Regions from separate parts of the Homo sapiens genome. Here regions 1, 2 and 4 are each linked to region 3. Evidence: promoter capture Hi-C in 16 types of primary human blood cells and fetal thymus (Javierre and others, 2016). All regions are on one chromosome and are shown on one strand. Each heading gives the region's core, a stretch centred on a gene start or on the middle of the fragment in contact. The rest is flanking DNA. Distances are from core to core; before and after follow the strand shown. Region 1 holds the start of ENTPD7 (ectonucleoside triphosphate diphosphohydrolase 7). Region 2 overlaps CUTC (cutC copper transporter). Region 3 holds the start of R3HCC1L (R3H domain and coiled-coil containing 1 like). Region 4 overlaps GOT1-DT (GOT1 divergent transcript).

Region 1 (3,107 bases), core at 269-2,768, 1.5 Mb after region 3:
GCCTGGACAACATAGTGAGACTCCATCTCTACAAAGAATTAAAAAAAAATAAGCTGGGCATGGTGGCACGTGCCTGTAGAGCCAGCTACTCAGGAGGTTGAGGTGGGAGGATCGCTTGCTCAGGAGGTCGAGGCTGCAGTGAACCACGATCGCACCACTGCACTCCAGCCTGGATGACAACAGAGTGAGACCCTGTAGGTAATTAAGTAAGTAAGTAGTTTTCCTAATGTCCTGACAGGCTTTGAGTCGGCCAAATGCAAGTGATGGTGACTGACTCCCTTGTCATAGTAAGCTTTGAATAAATAAAGCATTTGGGTGGTCTTCCTCCCCGATCCCCCCCATTCATTCATTTGCTTATTAATTATACATTAGTTGTGTTTTATCTGCCAGGCAGTGGCCAGTATTGGGAATATGTGGAAGCAAATAGTCCCTGCCTTCAAGGATATTCTGTCTAGTGGGACAGACAGACAGACATATACGTATAATAGTAATTCAACGTGCTAAGTGAAACAATAGGCATGTATAAAAAAGGTGTAGTAGGTCAAGTAGGGCTTTTAGGGGAAGGCGACCCTTAAGATGGGTGGTAAGGGATGAGTAGGAGGTGATTTGGCTAAGAGGCTGGGACGGTTATTCAAGGCAGGTGGAGGGGCAGAATGAGCAAAACAGGACGCGTTGCTGGAGCGTGGTAAGGAAGGCAAGTAGCGGCAGAGGACGGCGGTAGGGCGGATCGTGGGGCGCAATGGATGTGCCACGTTGGAAAGAGCTTGGACTTTATGCCGTCCTCCTGGAAATGAGATAACGGCTGGTGTAAGCAAGAAAGAAACACACACACACCCACGCGCGCGCGTCGTTTCCTTTGTGTTACTGTAAGGTCAAGGAGGGCGGCGACACAGAAATTCATGATGACTGGCATAAGCAGACATTCAATGAATGAATGAATGGACATAAGCACTTTGGTGTAAACGTCATTGTCTTCGATTTCTGTTTTCTCACGGGGCAAGACAGTGAGGTCGGGGCATCAGTTTGGGAGGTGATAGGGAAGGTTTAAGGTGAGAGAACTGCCATTCTGGTAGGGAGGGTCAGTGGGCACAAAACCAACAATAGGTTATGGGCAAGGGATGCGCTTCGGTCGCGAACACCCTGAACCCACCTACCGGAGCTACTCTGTCCCAGGAGCGGCCGTGGAGAAAGCAACCAGCCGAGAGTTCGCGCCCCAGGGAGGGAAGCGGGCACAGGGCCGCCCAGCGCCACTCACCTGTGAGCTCTCCGCGGGCCCTGCAGGCGGAGCCTCGGTACGACGCCTTTCCGATTGGGCGCGGCTCAAAGTCCCGGGGCGGGCATCAGAGGCCGAGCGCTCTAGGGGATTGGCCACCCTGGCGGACGGACGTGCTGCTGACCGAGCTGGTTCGCCCCCGGTTCGGCTCGTGGAGAGCCGGCCCCTCCGTGAGTCTTCTGTCAGTCATTGGCTCCCTGCGGTTTCCTTGGGGACGTGGCGCCGCCGCCGGCCGGGCCCTCCTTCCGGCTGGGCAAGGGGCCGCGGGGAGCAGCTCGGGACTGAACCGAGAGGTGCCGAAGGAACCGGCGGGCCGCTTGATCCCGTGAGTGTGGGCGCGAGAGGGCTGTGGGACCCGGAGGGACGGGGAGAGGAAGCGGGACCCACACCCCGCCACCTGGGGACGACCGGTTCCTAGAGGACAGAGCTGGCCCACGAGAACGCCCCGCTCCCAGGATGCCCGGGTAGGGTCCCCTGGGCCTGAGGAACCAGAGCAGACGGAGCGGGAGCCTGGGGAGGAGGTGGGAGCCGTGGAATTCCCGTGCAGGTTTGTCTCGTGGGCTCAGTCGGACAGAAGCCTGAAATCAAATCTTTCTAGGCTGCAGACGTAGGAGATGCCTGGGACAAGGAGGCCACCTTCTCAGGGCAAAAGAAAAAGAAGGTGACAGGCGTTGAGACCACCGAAGGGAACCCATGGCTAGGTAAGGCTGCACACTTTCCCTCCGGCTGGGAGCACGGCAGAGGATGGCAGGCAGGTTGGGGGGCCCTGGGAGGCTGTCCCAAGTGAGGTTTGCCCTGGAGCTGCACTTGGACTTTGTATTCTGGTTAGTTGGATGCAGAGACGATCAAAGTTGTATTATTTCGAGGGCTGATAAATAATAGTTTCTAGCCCATAGACCAGGAGTGGTAGAGTGAGTCGGCTTGCTCAGCTCTGTAAAGTGCAAGGTTGTAACATTGATTCAGATTCGCATCTGAGCAAGGCTAGGTGCCACTTGAGGAGGTTAAACAAAGAAGTTTTTTTGTTTTTTGTTTGCAGTGAACTTTAAAAGCAGACAGACCGAGGTCCTTTTGAATCAATATACAAAGTGAACTTCACAGATGAATACACTTATCCATACATTATAATAACCTGAAGCTTTTAAAAAATATTAATGTGGATCTACATGCACCAATAAGGGAAAGTTATAAAATAAAGTGGGGGAAAGATGCAGAACAGCAGGTATGGTGGACTACCATTTGTGTAAAACCGAGGGAATGGATACGCACACACACACACACACACACACACACACACACACAGAGATATATTACTGTAAATATATTGGTGTATATTTATGCTTGTGTATCCGTAGAATATCCCTGGAAAGATACACAGCAACGGCCAGGTGCAGTAGCTCACGCCTGTAATCCCAGCACTTTGGGAGGCCAAGGCAGGCAGATCACCTGAGGTCAGGAGTTCAGGACCAGCCTGGCCAAGTAGAAACCCGGTCTCTACTAAAAATACGAAAATTAGCCGGGTGTGGTGGCAGTCACCTGTAATCCCAGCTACTGGGGAGGCTGAGGGAGAAGAATCGCTTGAACCCAGGAGGTGGAGGTTGCAGTGAGCTGAGATTGCGCTACTACACTCCAGCCTGGGCAACAGAGCAAGACTCCATCTCAAAAAAAAAAAAAATTACACAGCAACTGGGTAGTAATGTTTGCCTCTGAGAGATTGTGGGGTCAGGGCAAGAATCACTTTTCACTATACAATATATCCTTTTAAACTGATTTGTCTTTTACTATGTGCTTGTATAATCTGGTAAAACATTTTTAAAATCAGTTAAATAAATTTTCT
Region 2 (3,352 bases), core at 823-3,322, 1.6 Mb after region 3:
ACTCTCAATTTTGCTAATTATATGTGTGATATCGTTTAACATAGTCCTCTGACCACTGTATTTCCTATAAAGGTAGTTAGCCCAGAGGCCTAATCAGATTCAGATTTCAGTTTTGACAAAATTTATTTATAGATAACATTATATACTTCCTGTTGCATCACATCAGGAGGACATAACATGTTGGTTTTTTTCTGTTTTTGTGATATTAAGATTGAACAGGGAGTTCAGGTATTGCCAGCCTAATCTATCCTTAAGGTTTTCTGTCAGCTTTTCACCTAATAAATTTAGCAACCCATATTTTAGTAGGGGTTGCAAAATGGTGACATTTATTTTTCACTTATGAACTAGAATAGTTCTGTAAAGAACTTTCCCTCATCCTCTGTTTGGTTATGCTGAAGTATGGTTTGTATAAGAAAGGCAGAATAAATGCTTGCTTATTTTCCCTTATTTATTATAATACTTTTTAGAATAATGAATTTGTTCTCTGTCTTCCCTTGAATTGTTTTGTCATTATGAATGTAGATTTAGATATATTTTGTGTGTTTTAATCCATTGTAGTTATTCTGCTTATTGATGAACAAAATGTTCTATCTTTGGCTAGTGAGAGCTTCTTCAAACTGGTTCCTGAGATCTTTTGATGTGACCTTGGTAGCCTAATAATTCTTTTGGTTTCAGCATTTTCTTATTCTTGAAATTATCTTGGTTTAGCTACTCAAAAGTAGCTTTGTGTTTTTTAAAGCTTAGAATAATAAAGACCCTTTTGGGAAATATTATGTTATTTTCTTATCAACAAAGACTCAGTATTCCACTATAGTCAGTTTTAAGAAACATCTTTATTCTATGTTACTTTCCTGTACATAGAGAGGCAACCCTATAATACAAAAATTTAAGAGAACTAGCTTAACTTTAATTAATTTTTAAATTTGAGTATGAGTAACACAATGTGGGCTGCAGAGTATAGCTGAGTTAAAAACAGAGTTTTACTCTAGCTTTATAATTTGATTTCTCTGAGATGATTTCTAAGACTGTTCTATATTTGGAAAAAATATATATAAACAGGTTGCTGTTTAATAACAGCTTATTTTTTAAAAATGTGTTGAGCAATGCTTTTATATTACAGGTGCTGATCGGATTGAATTATGTTCTGGTTTATCAGAGGGGGGAACTACACCCAGCATGGGTAAGTGTCCATTTTTCCCAGGTTTTCTGATTGGAGTTCATAGAGCCTGGAAGCAACTGATAATCAGTTTCGTTGGGGTCCTTTACTAATGTCATGTTAACTATGTTATGGATGTTGTATCAGAAATGTTTATGATTGTAAAAAAATCAAAGATTTGATCAAACATATTTCTTTCTCACATCAAAAAGTTGAAAGGTAGGTAGGTAATTGTTAATACCGGTTCAGCTGCTCTGTAGTAACATCAAGGATTAGGCTTTTATAAAATCTTTCCATGCTGGCATCCTTAGTATATTGAAATCCCCTCCTGGTCTTTGTGCTATTGTTGTCATATATTTTACTCATACATATATCAAAAACTCCATGCTGTATTGTTAGTTTTGTTTGAAGAGTCAATTATCTTTTGTTAAATAAGAGATTTAAATAATAAGAAAAAAATCATATATTTACCCACATGCAACTACCATTTCTGGTGTTCTTTATTCCTTTGTGTAGATCCCGTATTTCTGTCTGGTTTCATTTTCATTCTGCCTGAAGTACTTTCTTTAACTTTTTTTGTTAAAAAGTATGCTAGTGATTCATTCCTTCAGCTTTTATATGTCTAAAATAGCTTTTTCCTTCATTTTTGAAAGGTATTTTTGCTGGGTATAGAATTCTAGGTTGACAGGTTTTTTTTTTCTTTGAAGATGTTTTTCCATTGTCGTCTTGCTTGTATTGTTTCTGACAAAAAGCTATCATCCATATCTTTGTTTTTCTCTATGTAATATGTCTCTTTTTTCTACCTACTTTTAAGATTTTTTTATTATTGGTTTTGAACAATTTTCTTATGGTGTACCTGAGTATAGTTTTTTCATGTTTCTTGGACCTGTGCATTTATACTTCTCATCACATTTGGAAAATTTTCAGCTTGCAGCTTGTTCTCCACTCCCTCCTTTAGAGACTTAAGCTATTCTTACATTAGACTACTTGAAATTGTCCCAAAAGTCACTGATGAACTTCTCTATTTAAAAGAAAATCTCCTTTCTGTGTTTTCATTTTGCATAGTTGCTATTGTTTTGTCCTTGAGCTTACTGACCTTTTCTTCTGCACTATCTAATCTGCTATTAGTCTCTCCTGGTATGTTTTCATCTCATACATTGTAGTCTTCATCTGTAGAAATTTGAGTCTTTTTATGTCTCTGATGTCTCTTAACTTTTTTGAACATGTGGAATAAAGTTATGATAGCTGTTATAATGACCTTGTCTGCGAATTCTAACATCTATATCAGTTCTGGGTTTGTTTCATTTGATTTATCATCTAATAATATATCTTATTTTCCTGCCTTGTAATTTTTTATTGGATGCAAGACATTGTGAATTTTACTTTATTGGTTACTAGACATTTTTGAATTCCTACAAATGTTCCAAAACAGTTTGGTCCTTTTGGGTCTTGCTTTTAAGATTTGCTGGGCAAGTCTGGAGCAGTGGTTAATACAGAGCTAATTATTCCTTACTACTGAGTCAGGATTCTTCTGTGAACTCTACCCTGTGACCATGAATTTTGAAATTTTCCTGTCTGGCTGGTGGAATAGGCATTATTCACAGCTTGGTATGAATGACAGGCACATTATTTCTAATCCTTTTTATTGGTTCTGTCCCAGGCCTTGCGTAGTTTCTTTGCATGCATGCACCGGTCAGTACTCAGCTGAATATTAAAGGAGGTTCTCTGCAGACCTCCAGAGTTATCTGTCTTCCTTTCTTCTTTCATTCCTTCCTTTCCTTTCTTTTCTTTCCTTCTCCTTTTCTCTCTCTTTGCTTTCCTTCCTTCCTTTTTTTCTTTTGACAGGGTCTCACCTGTTGTCCAGGCTTGACTGAAGTGGTGTGACCATAGCTCCCTACAGCCTCAAACTCCTGGGCTCAAGCAATTGTCCTGCCTCAGCCTCTCAAGTAGCTAGGATTACAGGCATATGCCACCATGTCCAGCTACATTTGTTTGTTTGTTTGTTTGGTAGAGATGGAGTCTCACCATTTTACCCAGACTGGTCTTGAACTCCTTGCCTCAGGCAATCCACCCATCTCAGCCTCCCAAAGCACTGGGATTACAGGCATGAGCCACCGTACCAAGCCTATCTTTTTTAAAAAAAATCCTTTTTTTAAACCATTGAGATAGTCTTTGCTACTCCAGTGTTATCTTTCT
Region 3 (3,334 bases), core at 346-2,845:
AGATAGTGAGAGAAGAAAGAGACCCTCTCATATTGTTTTATATTGTTTTATACTCAGTACCTGTTTTAAGAAAAAAAACAAGGAAGTGAAACCAAAGGCAGGCAGCCCAGCACCAGGCACCAGACCCAAAACCAGACCTGAAACCAGGCCTGGGCCTGCCTGGCCTAAACCTAGTAGTTAAAAATCAACTCATGACTTAGCATAGATTCCAGGCATTGTATGGAAGAACATTGTACTCTGTTCTGTTTCACTCTGACTACCACTGCATGAAGCCCCTGTCACATACACCCCAGATTGCTCAATCAATCACGACCCTTTCATGTGAAATCTTTAGTGTGGTGAGCCCTTAAAAGGGACAGAAATTGTGCACTCGGGGAGCTTGGATTTTAGGACAGTAGCTTGCCGATGCTCCCAGCTGAATAAAGCCCTTCGTTCTACAACTTGGTGTCTGAGAGGTTTTGTCTGCGGCTCGTCCTGCTACAATAGAATCTCCAAGATTTGGTGACCATTTGAATATTGGAGGAAGAGGAAGTGAGAAAGGAGGAATCAGGTTAAAGAGTGAATATTAATGAGTAGGGAGGAGGGGTAGTAGTTTACTTTTCTTTTTTTGGGGGACGGAGTCTCCCTGTGTTGCCCAGGCTGGAGTGCAGTGGTGCAATTTTGGCTTACTGCAACCTCCGCCTCCCGGGTTCAAGCGATTCTCCTTCAAGCAATTCTCCTGCCTCGGCCTCCTGGGTAGCTGGGATTACAGGTGCCCACCACCACGCACAGCTAATTTCTGTACTTTTAGTAGAGACAGGGTTTCACCATGTTGGTCAGGCTGGTCTCGAACTCCTGACCGCAGGTGATCCACCTGCCTTGGCCTCCCAAAGTGCTGGGATTACAGGCATGAGCCACTGTTCCTGGCCCCAGTAGTTCACTTTTCAAGGACACTGGAGATGCCTGTGGGCATGGATGAGGAGAGGTCTTGTCTAGGAAGTTGGGAATACAAACAATGAGCTCAGGTGAGAAGGGACTGGAGTGTCCCCTCTCCCACCCCAATTTTAAGAACTCTGGAAAACACCAATATTTTAGAGGTAAGTTAGAGGAAACAAAGTAGAATGAATTCAGAGAAGGAAAACCTGGATAGTGTCATAGAAAATAAGTGATAATGCCCAATAGCGTCAAATGACTAAAGCTTGAGTTAGATGAGTCCGGAAATACCTCCAATGAGTTTGGCAACAAGGACACTTATGACAACAAGGCATTTTCCATGGGGGCGGAAGCTGCGATGAGGAGTGAACACAGATGAGCAAGTAGAGACAGTGTAGATTATCTTTTTCAAAAAACTTGGCTGTGAACGGAGGAAGTGAGATGGTATAATTGAGTGGAATGTAAGGAGATTTGCGCACGTATATAGCCGAGAGGAATGAGGAAGGGTTGAAGGGACAGGAGCAGAAATGCTCTCCGGCACTCGCCATTTTGCCAGCTTCTCCCCTACGTGACCTGAACTCAGTGGGCGCGGCCGGGCCTCGCGGAAACTACAACCCCCAGAAGGCCCCACGGCGTTGGGGGCGGAGCCGAGGCCTGACGCGCGCCCCAGCGGCGCGAGCGGAAGAGATAGAGCTTCGCGGAGACGGCGGAAGCGGAGAGCAACAGCGCGCCGGTAACAACCAGCCCCGTATCCCCTCCCTCTGTACCTCAAGCTAGGATTTTTAATCCCCACTTCTCCCTTCACAGCCCGGGACAAGACTTCCATTCCGTCGTTTGTTGCTGGTATTTTTTTTCCTCATGTGACGCGAGGGGCCGCCCCCTGCCTGGGGCGGAGGTTACTGGGAAGCTCCCGCCTTCTGACCCCTGCGGGCCCGCGGTTGAGAGGGACCCTCCCGGGGCTCTTTTGCACTCACTGGGGCTCGTGCTCGCTTTGGGCGCTCGCCCCAAATGATCCTGGCGGAAAGGACGTGCTTTTTCTGGGTTTCAACAGGTATTGAGCGGGGTCCCTGGTTACCCCCTCGGGGCTGCGGGGCCGTGGGCCCCCAGGGCTGCCGGCGGTTTCCGGGCTTCGCTTCGAGCCTCGCCTTTGAGCCTCCTCCGCTGCCCGGGAGCCCCGGGCTACGGGCTGGGAGTGAGCAATCTATAAAGGAGCATGTACTTCCTGCTTTTTCTTGGCAGGCCTGCGAAAAACCCCAAGTCCGATCTTTAAAGTTTGTGAGTGCAGCCCCCTCTCAGTTGTGTACGGGAAGGAGCACAGGATTTGGAGTCTGATATCCTGGGGGAAGTCTCAGTCCGCCACTTGGCTGGACCTGTGATCTTTTGTACAGTAGTCTGTTTAGCGCAGCCTCGGTTTCGTTGTCTGAAAAGTGGGGTTAATGTTCTTTGCCCTGCGGCCTTCCAGGGTTGTGGGCTTCAGCAGAAGTGATATTCCTGCGAAAGCTTTGAACTCTAAAGTATGTTTCGGGTATAACCTTGCCATCCCCCAGTCTCCAGTCTAGGTCAGTTGAGTTTTAAAACCAGGTTCATGTCTATACGAAGATCAAATTAGTTAATAAATAGGGGGAAAGTGTCTTTGGAAACGAATCTGAACCATACAGATGTTTTTATGCCAGGTTCCTAGTGAAGAGGTGACCTTAGGGCGTTACCACCTGTGGAGTCAATTTAAAACTTCATCTGGATTTTAAGGCCCACCAGAATTTAGACTCTTCTTCCTCAGCACACACAACTATCTCTTGCTGTTATAACCTTCCTTCAGTATCACACAGGTACAAGCATAAAGCAGTAAACGTTCCTCAGATATGGTTGTACTACAACTAATACCTGTCCCCAGCAGGTCTTGTGTCTTGTGTCACAGTTGAAATTCAGAATATAAATAGCCAAATATCCCATCTGTTTAATTTTTTTTGACATTAAGCTTTGAGACTAAGCAAGTTGCTTATTGTCTTATTTTTCCCCTTACAGAGAATGCTAATTCTGCAATCAGTTTTTTTTTTTTTTTTGGGTAGAATCAGGATTTCACTATGTCGCCCAGATTGGTCTAACTCCTGGGCTCAAATGATCCTCCCGCCTCGACCTCCCAAAGTGTTGGTATTACAGGCGTTTGACACTGTGCCCACTGTGCCCGACCTCTGCGATTAATTTTTAAAGGGGTAAGAAAGTGTAGTTAGGTATTTTTAGTCTGTGTTTATTCTGAATTTATTGATTGAAGAATACTTGAAAATGGTCCAAAAAACAAGAGAGGATGACAGTAAGTTGCATTAGCTTAGTGTACAAATTCGAGCAAATTTGAGTTCAAGTCCTGGTGCTGTGTCTTACTACAGGTTGGAGTATCCTTATCTGAAATGCTTGGTACCAGAGTGTT
Region 4 (3,188 bases), core at 162-2,661, 1.3 Mb after region 3:
TGATCTGTTATTTTTTACTAAAGTTACTTGATGCTCTTTAGCAAGCTGACAGAATAATTCTAATTTTAGCAAATACAAAACCATGGTAATCCTAGCACATTTGGATTCTGTTTAACCCTGAAAACTCTTTTGGCAGCAAATCTTCAATGCCAATTTAGATAAATCCCACTAGGAATAAGCACTGAAAGACGTTGAGTCTAGTTCCCAGCTCTGCCATGTGAAGTTGGGCAAATTACAGTCTCTGAGCTTTTATTTCATCTGTTAAATGGAGATAATACCTCCTAGATTTATTAAAAGGGTCAATTTAGAAAATATGTATTAAAATGGTTTGAAAGCCATTTAAGTACCTAATGAATATTTCTATCACTGTAGCCCAAAAAGATTCCTGCCTAGAAGACTTTATGTCTCTTCTCCTCATTTGGTATCATTCTATTGCCTGAGATTGTTAATTAACTTTTATGTATACTCAATATTTTCTCCCAACTTGGTTGCTAGTTCCTTGAGAACTGAAACCATCAATTGCACTTCTTGGTATCCTCCACAATAAGGTATCTAGGTACTCAAATATTTGTTGGTTGATTAAAAACATAAACCACAAGACATAATTAACTCTTTTTAAAATTGTGGTAAAAAAACATGTATTTACCATCTTAATCATTTTTAAGTATACTGTATATTAGTGTTTACTATATGCACATTGTTGTGCAACACATCTCTAGGACTTTTTCATCCAGAATTCTTTTTTTTTGAGACAGAGTCTTGCTGTGTCGCCCAAGCTGGAGTTCAGTGGCACCATCCTGGCTCACTGCAACTGCTGCCTCCCAGGTTCAAGTGATTCTCCTGCCTCAGCCTCCCGAGTAGCTGGGATTACATGTGCCTGCCACCACGCCTGGCAAGTTTTTGTATTTTTAGTAGAAATGGTGTTTTACCATGTTGGCCAAGACTGGCCTAGAACTCCAGACCTCAAGTGATCCACCCGCCTCAGCAGCCCAAAGTGGTGGGATTACAGGCATGAGCAACTGTGCCTGGCCTAGCCATTTTCTATAAACCTGAAAATAGATGCCAGAAAAGAAGGTGCCGCTATAAAATGCTTTCTTGAGTGATTTATGTCTAACATACAATTAAACATTTATGAGAAGGAAATTATCAGGTTAAAATATAAACTCACTTGCCAATTATTTGATTTTCAGGATATCTGACTTTTGTTAATTACTGAAAATAAAGTATTATTTCTAATCACTATTGGTATCACAATAGCATTTTTATTTGGCCGGTATGTGTGAGGCCTGGAGTATGACGGGAAACTGTCCTAGAAAAGGCCCTTGCATTGGCTGTAGAGAGTTCTGGAACTCTCAAGATGGCAAGATTGTATTTAACTCTTTTAAAAACAATGCACCTTTTCAAGCACAGATTTTCATCTGATGTTGTGACCGTCAATTATGTCAGATTTGTTTGATATATTAAAAAATTGGTTTCTCCTTTGCACAAAATAAATTATAGATGGATATAAGATTTAAATATTTTAAACAATATAGGGAAAATAATATATTTGAAACATAGTATTAGGGTAGAATAGACTTTCCTAATCATGGCACAATCTCAGAAGCTATAAAGAAAATAATTGACTTTGCATGGCTATAGACACCATAAATAAATATGTGATAACATGGAAGAATATTTGCAACATGCTTATTAGTCACATCTGTTATATAGTCAGAGCTTCATTGTATTGGTGGAAAAATTAGGATATAAAGAAATTCAGAAAAGAATAAATACAAATAACCAGTAAACATGTCCAAAATCATCCTCATTATAAAATTGAAACCACGCTGATTTATCAATGTTTACCCATTAGACTGACAAACATTTTAAATGTTCAAAAAATAGTGTTGAGGGAAAAGAGCAATGACATGCACTATTGGGGAGACTGTCAATGAATAAAGCCTTTTCTTGTATTTTGGTAATAACAGTCAAAATGCACATAATACCATTTGACCAAGCAATTTCTCCTCTAGGAATCTATCCTAAAGAAATTTATACAAGTTTTCAAAGATAGGTATGTAGGCATACAGTTATGCATTGTAGCTTTGCTTTAACAGAAAAAGAGTAAACACATGTATTATTTTTGTAGCCTAAAAAAAAATCAAGTTTTCATTGAAAATAAAAATGACAGGTTTGAAGCAGGACAGTGGCCATGGAAGTCGAATCCACTAAGGCGTGTGTAACAAGTCACCTGCTGAGTCAACAAAAATAAATAAAAATTTTTTAAAAACAGGCTTGAGAGACACTTCACAGGAATAGAAAATTTAGATAGTTTCTAACAATGACAATGAAGTAGGACAGGAAAAAGTAATTCTCCAAAGCAAAGTATGTATGTGTGTAGTAACTTAAAACTTCAGATACTATGAGAAACTATTTTTAAATAAAGAACAATGTGGTGTGCTACAGTTTAGAGTTGATCTGGAAATCTGGGGAGCTATTGATGCTCCTTAGTTAATAAATTAGTGATTTTTAAAAATATGAATCCCCATTATCCGTAGCAAACTAACGCAGGAACAGAAAACCAAATACTGCCAAATACTGCATGTTCTCATAAGTGGGGCTGAATGATGAAGAACACATGGATACATGAAGGGGAATAACACACACTGGGGCCTGTCAGGGGTGGGAGTAGGAGGAAGGAGGGCATCAGAAAGAACAGCTAATGGATGCTTGGCTGAATAGCTAGGTGACAGGATGATCTATGCAGCAAACCACCACGGCACACATTTACCTATGTAACAAACCTGCACATCCTGCACATGTACTCCTGAACTTGAGAATTGAAGAAAAAAAATGAATCCCACAATTCTGTATCCAAAGACCGAGAACAGCTCCTGACATCGAACAGACAATAAATATTGGCTGAAGGAATGAATGAGGATATTTGCATCCGAGTTTTAATTAGAATAGATGTAAAATTGCCTAATGATTATTACTTGTTCTGCAACAAGTGTTTAATAGATACTAGTTCACTACTTATACGTGTCTAACACATCACAAAGGTTTATTTAAAAGAATTTATATAGTGCTTATTATATGTTGGGTACTGTTCTAAGTTCTTCACAAACACTAACTCATTCAAGTTGTATAAGTGAAGCAGGTGGTCTAATTATTCCATTTAACAGATGAGGCAATTGAGGCAAAGA

The links. The method cuts DNA at HindIII sites, captures the fragments that hold promoters and counts their contacts. A CHiCAGO score of 5 or more calls a contact.
Region 1: the fragment with the promoter of ENTPD7 here is called in contact with the fragment with the promoter of R3HCC1L in region 3 in 4 of 17 cell types (total CD4 T cells, total CD8 T cells, non-activated CD4 T cells and 1 more); the score reaches 8.8 in total CD4 T cells.
Region 2: a fragment that was not itself captured here is called in contact with the fragment with the promoter of R3HCC1L in region 3 in 2 of 17 cell types (naive CD8 T cells and total CD4 T cells); the score reaches 6.5 in naive CD8 T cells.
Region 4: a contact is called between a fragment that was not itself captured here and the fragment with the promoter of R3HCC1L in region 3, in 1 of 17 cell types (total CD8 T cells). The highest score is 6.0, in total CD8 T cells.

What each region holds. Positions count from the first base shown.
Region 1 is chr10:99,657,991-99,661,097 of GRCh38, forward strand. It overlaps ENTPD7 (ectonucleoside triphosphate diphosphohydrolase 7), which reads left to right and starts at 1,519. Exons shown (of 13, transcript NM_020354.5): 1 at 1,519-1,598; 2 at 1,872-1,974. The coding sequence starts at 1,967. It also overlaps a transcript of SLC25A28 not described here. RefSeq lists silencers at 1,198-1,407, 1,528-1,747. The HindIII fragment of the contact is 2,116 bases long and covers 291-2,406 here.
Region 2 is chr10:99,738,590-99,741,941 of GRCh38, forward strand. CUTC (cutC copper transporter) reads left to right here. Exons shown (of 9, transcript NM_015960.3): 3 at 1,121-1,180. Among named protein-coding and RNA genes, the nearest start is that of CUTC, 8.0 kb to the left of the region's middle. The HindIII fragment of the contact is 2,671 bases long and covers 738-3,352 here.
Region 3 is chr10:98,133,062-98,136,395 of GRCh38, forward strand. R3HCC1L (R3H domain and coiled-coil containing 1 like) reads left to right here and starts at 1,596. Exons shown (of 10, transcript NM_001351015.2): 1 at 1,596-1,645. RefSeq lists enhancers at 2,023-2,812, 2,155-2,294. The HindIII fragment of the contact is 1,235 bases long and covers 1,176-2,410 here.
Region 4 is chr10:99,436,876-99,440,063 of GRCh38, forward strand. The region is part of intron 3 of GOT1-DT (GOT1 divergent transcript); the gene reads left to right. Among named protein-coding and RNA genes, the nearest start is that of GOT1-DT, 7.5 kb to the left of the region's middle. The HindIII fragment of the contact is 4,686 bases long and covers 1-3,188 here.